Linked DNA regions of Homo sapiens: region 1 is linked to region 2. The links are contacts of gene promoters, found by promoter capture Hi-C in human tissues and cell types (Jung and others, 2019). All regions are on one chromosome and are shown on one strand. Each heading gives the region's core, a stretch centred on a gene start or on the middle of the fragment in contact. The rest is flanking DNA. Distances are from core to core; before and after follow the strand shown.

What was found. Contacts are between HindIII fragments. The study calls those that stand out against the background at their distance.
Region 1: the fragment with the promoter of HCAR1 here is called in contact with the fragment with the promoter of CLIP1 in region 2 in 1 of the 25 tissues and cell types used here (lymphoblastoid cells).

Annotation. Positions count from the first base shown.
Region 1 is chr12:122,729,483-122,732,182 of GRCh38, forward strand. It overlaps HCAR1 (hydroxycarboxylic acid receptor 1), which reads right to left and starts at 1,362. Exons shown (of 1, transcript NM_032554.4): 1 at 1-1,362. The coding sequence starts at 857. RefSeq lists an enhancer at 124-791. The HindIII fragment of the contact is 12,382 bases long and covers 1-2,700 here.
Region 2 is chr12:122,421,222-122,423,921 of GRCh38, forward strand. It overlaps CLIP1 (CAP-Gly domain containing linker protein 1), which reads right to left and starts at 1,448. Exons shown (of 26, transcript NM_001247997.2): 1 at 1,300-1,448. RefSeq lists silencers at 745-1,144, 1,165-1,514 and an enhancer at 2,624-2,700. The HindIII fragment of the contact is 23,258 bases long and covers 1-2,700 here.

The DNA.
Region 1 (2,700 bases), core at 112-2,611, 310 kb after region 2:
GGAAAGGAGGGGCTTGAAAAATAATACACCAGGGGATCCAGCATGCTGTTCATGTAGGTGAAGCTGAGGGTTATGTGCAGGGCCCCATGGACAGAGGGATCGCAGGCACTCGAGGGCACCGTCCAGAGGAAATAGAGTCTAGCAGACACGCTGGGCAGGTAGCATGTGATGAACACAATTGCCACCACCATGATGAACCGGGTCGCCTTCTTCATCCGAGCCTGTCTGGCCAGCTGCTGCCTCCGCCTCAGGCTCCAAACAATCTTGAAGGAGCAAAATAAGATGATGCCGAGGGGCATAAAGAACTCCAGCTGGAACATGATGTCATGCCAGCCATTGGCCGACTCCATGATGAAGCTCTCACAGGAGACGGCCGTCTCTTGCACGCAGAGATGGTTCTCCAGCAAAAGATACACTGTTCCCAGGATGACCAGGGCCCACAGGGTGCAGACGATGCCAGCCGCCACCCGGGTGGAGATAGTGTTCACCGCGTGGTGGGGGTGGACCACTTTGAAATACCTGTCCGCAGCCACCACCGTAAGGAACACGATGCTCCCGGCCCTGTTCATGGCCAACGTGAAGAGCCCCACTCGGCAGGGAATGTCCCCAAAAGCCCAGTGTCTACGTCTGAGGTAATAGTCTGTCCGAAAAGGCAGGCAGATCATAAGGAGGAAATCAGCCACGGCCAAATTGAAAAGGTAAACAGTGCTGGGCTTCCAGGTCTTCATGTGGAAGCAGAAACCACACAGGGCGACCCCATTGCCTAGTGCGCCCAGCACAAAGGCCACAATGAGCAGCGGCGGCATCACCTGGGAGATGGTGTCCCCCTCGATGCGGCAGCACGACCCGTTGTACATGGCGGGGACAGAGCAAGTGTCCGGGTGCAGAGCAGCCCAGGGAGTCCCCACAATGGCACAGATGCTTATCTGAGCGTTAGCACTCACCCAGCTGCTGCGTGTCTGACTTCATCACCCAGGATGCGGGTCCTGTGTGTGTGGGTTGGATGCTGCCACAGCAGCGAGAAGAGAAACTTCAGCCAGGAAATGAGAGACCCAGGGAGGTCCTTTCTCTGGAGCCCGTCTCACAAGCCGCCTGCCTCTGGGAGAGGCCAAGCCTGGAGCCGGATGAAGCTTGGAAATGCATGCAATTTTGCAAAAGTGGTCATTTCTGAGAGGCGGTAGGGTGGGGGGGTCCGATGAGATTGATGCCGTAGAGGAGCGATTGGGTCCAGCGCCAGAGTAATTTTCATTTTCAGCTTCGCTGTTCCTCCTCGGACTCCGTGCTGGAGAGCACACAAAGCTGCCCAGAAGGCAAGAAGAAAGCTTGTTTGTCCTCCCTCCTGGTGGAGAAATCCAAACATTTCCTGGAGTGGTTCTGGGCTCCTGCCTTTGCTTTCCTCCCGTAACCTTTGCCTGACTGCCTTGTCCTCTCCCTCATCCCACGGGGCACTCCCATGCGGTGCCAGAGAGGGGAGGCTTTGCTCTGCAGCTCCTCCGGGCCATTTCCTGTGCCGAAAAATACCGCGCTCAAAAATTGGAGGAGTCTGCGGAGAGAAAAGTTCTAATCACGATACTTGATGGATGTTAGAAAAATTCTTTGACGGGAGTCACCTTTCCCCCGCTCTATTCCCACCTCCCTGCCCTTTACATCCTTCCGTGAACCAAAGTGGCCAGTTGCACAACCACCAAGACCATGAAATAGATCTGAAGCCCACTTCTCATATGTCTGTCTCCACAAAACGGCCTCTTTGGGAGCCGGTTTCCCCCTCTGCTGGGAAGCAGAGCCTAGAACTTTTACAAAGATTTGGCCCTGAGTTTCCATTGGCTGTTGAATGAGCCAAACACCATGAGATGTACGTTTTTAATTTCAATTATGTGCTGAGCCCATCAATTAAAACTGCCCCCTGGGGGCGGAAGAGGATTGGAGGAGTTGATTAAGGAGTCCATCTCTAAAGCAATCATGAGTAACATTAGACTGCACAAAAAATTGGAGTCTTTGCTAAAATTTCCTGTCCTTTGGCTTTAAGGATTATTAATCTGCCCTGTGCCTTTCAGCTTCCAGTTTAGAAAATGGGGTGGAGGCCGGGCGCGGTGGCTCACGCTTGTAATCCAAGCACTTTGGTAGGCCCAGGCGGGCGGATCACCAGGTCAGGAGATGGAGACCATCCTGGCTAACACGGTAAAACCCCGTCTCTACTAAAAATACAAAAAAATGAGCCAGGCGTGGTGGCGGGCGCCTGTAGTCCCAGCTACTCGGGAGGCTGAGGCAGGAGAATGGCGTGAACCCGGGAGGCAGAGCTTGCAGGGAGCCAAGATTGCGCCACTGCACTCCAGTCTGGGTGACAGAACCAGACTCCGTCTAAAACAAACAAACAAACAAACAAACAAAACAACAAGAAAAAGAAAAAGAAAAAAGAAAGAAAGAAGAAAATGGGGTGGAGGCCAGTCGCGGTGGCTCACATCTATAATCCCAGCACTTTGGGAGGCCGAGGCAGGTGGATGACTTGAGGTCAGGAGTACAAGACCAGCCTTGCCAACATGGTGAAACCCCATCTCTACTAAAAATATACAAAAATCAGTCAGGTGTTGTGGCATGTGTCTGTAATCCCAGTTACTCAGGAGGCTGAGGCAGGAGAATCACTTGAACCCGGGAGGTGGAGGTTGCAGTGAGCCGAGATCGTGCCAATGAACTCCAGCCTGG
Region 2 (2,700 bases), core at 198-2,697:
GGCCACAAGATGCCTTCAATAAATGTTCATTGTTATAATTTACAGAGAAAAAAAGGCCCCAAGTCTGAGAAGCGACATGCCTGGGGATTCTTGCTAAAGGTTATCATTAAATCTAAAAGTCAAACAAACACATTCCTGACTCTGGGATACTCTCCTGATTCGTGGATACCATCGCTAACAGTAGTGACACAAATCAAATAATAAGAACAGCCAGAATCATAACCCTAATGACAGCAGTGGCCACAGCACTTAATACTTATAGAGCTGCTAGGGGCCACTGTCCTAAAAGAGGAAGAAGGCCAGGCTGCTGAATCACACACACACAATTACAGAATCTTCTCCACCCTTTGTTTTAAAAAACAGTTCACTGGCGCCCAAGTTTTGCTAAAAACAGGTATCTAAACCGATGACGGACAACGTGTAATTTCTTCATACCAAAGAGGTGGGGCTGTGCAGGGAGGAGGGGGTGGCGCTCGGCTCCTGCCAGATGGAAAAGCCACATGAAGTGGAGAAACAGCCGGATTCAGGATTCACCCCCGAATCAAAACCCGATTTTTGAAAGGCAGGACCTTCCAATTCGGGCAATCGCTAGGTTCTGCTTGTAAAATAACCTCTGAACAAGTGTCATCTGCCTTCCGCGCCAATCCCCTGCCGCGGTAGAAGGTTCGGATTACCGGGCAGCGGTGTGATTTCGGAAACCCGAGAGCGATCTGGCCACCTCCAGCCTTCCCCGGTCTCCGAGAATCACAGCCCCACTTGAGAGGAAAACAAAAGCCGGGGCAGCGGGGGAGGCCGGGCCAGGGTGCCCTCCATGCCGGATCGCGGGCGCCGGGCACCCGGGGCCTGAGGAATGCTCAGGTGACAGGCGCGGCGCCCGGGGCAACAGGTCCCGCCCGGCTTCGGCCTCCCGGGGTCCGGCCGATCCCACATCCGCCCCGGGGCCCAGGAGAGGGAGCGGGGCGCCAGGGAGAGAGCGGCGCCTGGGGCGGCGCAGGGGCAAGGAGTCCAAGCTCCATCTTGAGGCGGGCGGAGGAAGCGAAGGCCCGGCTCGGCGCTGACAGGGCCGCCACTTTTCCAGCTCCGGAGGAGCCCCCCAGGGACCCCCGGCCTCCGGCGCCGGCCACCCGAGACTCCCGCGGTCCCCTCCCGGACGGCTCCGGCGCGCGAGGCTCGGCCCCGCTCCCGGACGCCGGGCTTCGACCCCCGACCCGACCCTGGGCGGGCCCCGCAGGCCGGGAAGCCGGCAGGGGAGCAGGGGGTGCCGGGAAAGGGAGAGGGCCCGCGCCGCCCCCTGCTCACCTCCTCGGACGCCGCCGGTCGCCGCCACCTGTCCCACTGCAGCAGCAGCAGCCGCCGCGGCCGCCGCCTCCCGCCTCCCGGCTCGTCGGCTCGGGGCGGGGGAGAGCGTGACGCGCCGCCGCCGCCGCGGGGCCGGGCGGGCGCGCGCTGCCAGGAGAAGACGCCGCGCGGCTCCTCCCAGCGCTCCGCCGCCGCGCCCGCCCGGCCGGCCCGGCCGGCCCGGCCCCTCGAGTCCGCACCGGCCCTGCGGCCCGCGCCCGGCCCCGCGCCGCCCCGCCGCCTCTTTGTCTGCGCCCACCGCGGCCCCGGGAGGACCCTGGCCCCGGCGCGCCCGCCGCTCCGCCCTCGAACCCTCCCGAGCCCCGGCTTGGGGAGCAAGGTGCGAGGGAAAACCCACAGGCCTGCTCCGAGGGGCTTCTCGTCATTTCTGCAAAGTGTTCCCAGAATTTGCAAGTCACACCCAAGAGCCCCATTCAGCCTCGACCTCAGCCCGCTCTTTGGGGCTGATTCATTTGTTTGCCCTCCCCTTCCCGCCAGACAAGGGTGAGAAATCCTTTGAAACAGGCTGCAAGGCGCTTCCGAAGCAGGTTAAGTTGGGGATTGGGAAGGATCATCTCTGCCCTCGCCTCCCTCCAGGGAAAGACCCTGGATGAGGCGTCCCTGGAGAAAATGCTGAAAGGAACTGTAGAGCAGGTTAAGCTTGGGAAGAACTGTATCTGCTCCCCACTTCCCTCCGGGAACGACCGCGGGTTAAAAATCCTTTGAAACGATCCCAGGGTTTGCTCCGTTCGTTTGAGAAAAGCCCCTTTTATTCGCCCTGGCTGCTTGGACGGAAGCCCTGGTTAGTGTCCCATCCTCCTTCCCCCCTGGGATTTCCTTTAAAAGCTTTTGAAAGGGACAGGAGGGAAGGCTGCAACAGCCTGCTCGGGGCTGGGGTAGCAGAGGGCGGCCAGCATTTCACTCCCATGGACCATGGCAACCCCAGAAGCCTTACATCTCCAGGGAGGAATTTGCAGCTGTCGGGGAAGCCCAGGATTTTGTGGTGGATAAGGGGGCAGGGGCTTCCTCCTCCTTGCCAGTAGAAGAGAATAATCGGCGGGTGACCCCTCTAGCTGACCTTTATTCAAAGCACCGTGCTGCCTGGACCAGCAGGAAGAGGGAACTGCTCTGGTAATGCACGAAGTTCTGAACTATGTAAATTTGTCTCCTGGCCCCTCCTCTCCATTCATGTCTGAAATCCCTCGAAATGCTGTTACCTAATTCAACATCGCCCTAATTTACAGGCTGCAAGGTCAGGTGGTGGTGGTACTCCTGAAATCCCATATCCATATTCCTAATCTGAAAGGCGCGCCTCACCCCCTAATCTAAACAGTCTTCAGCTGTAATCAGCAAGCTGTGGAA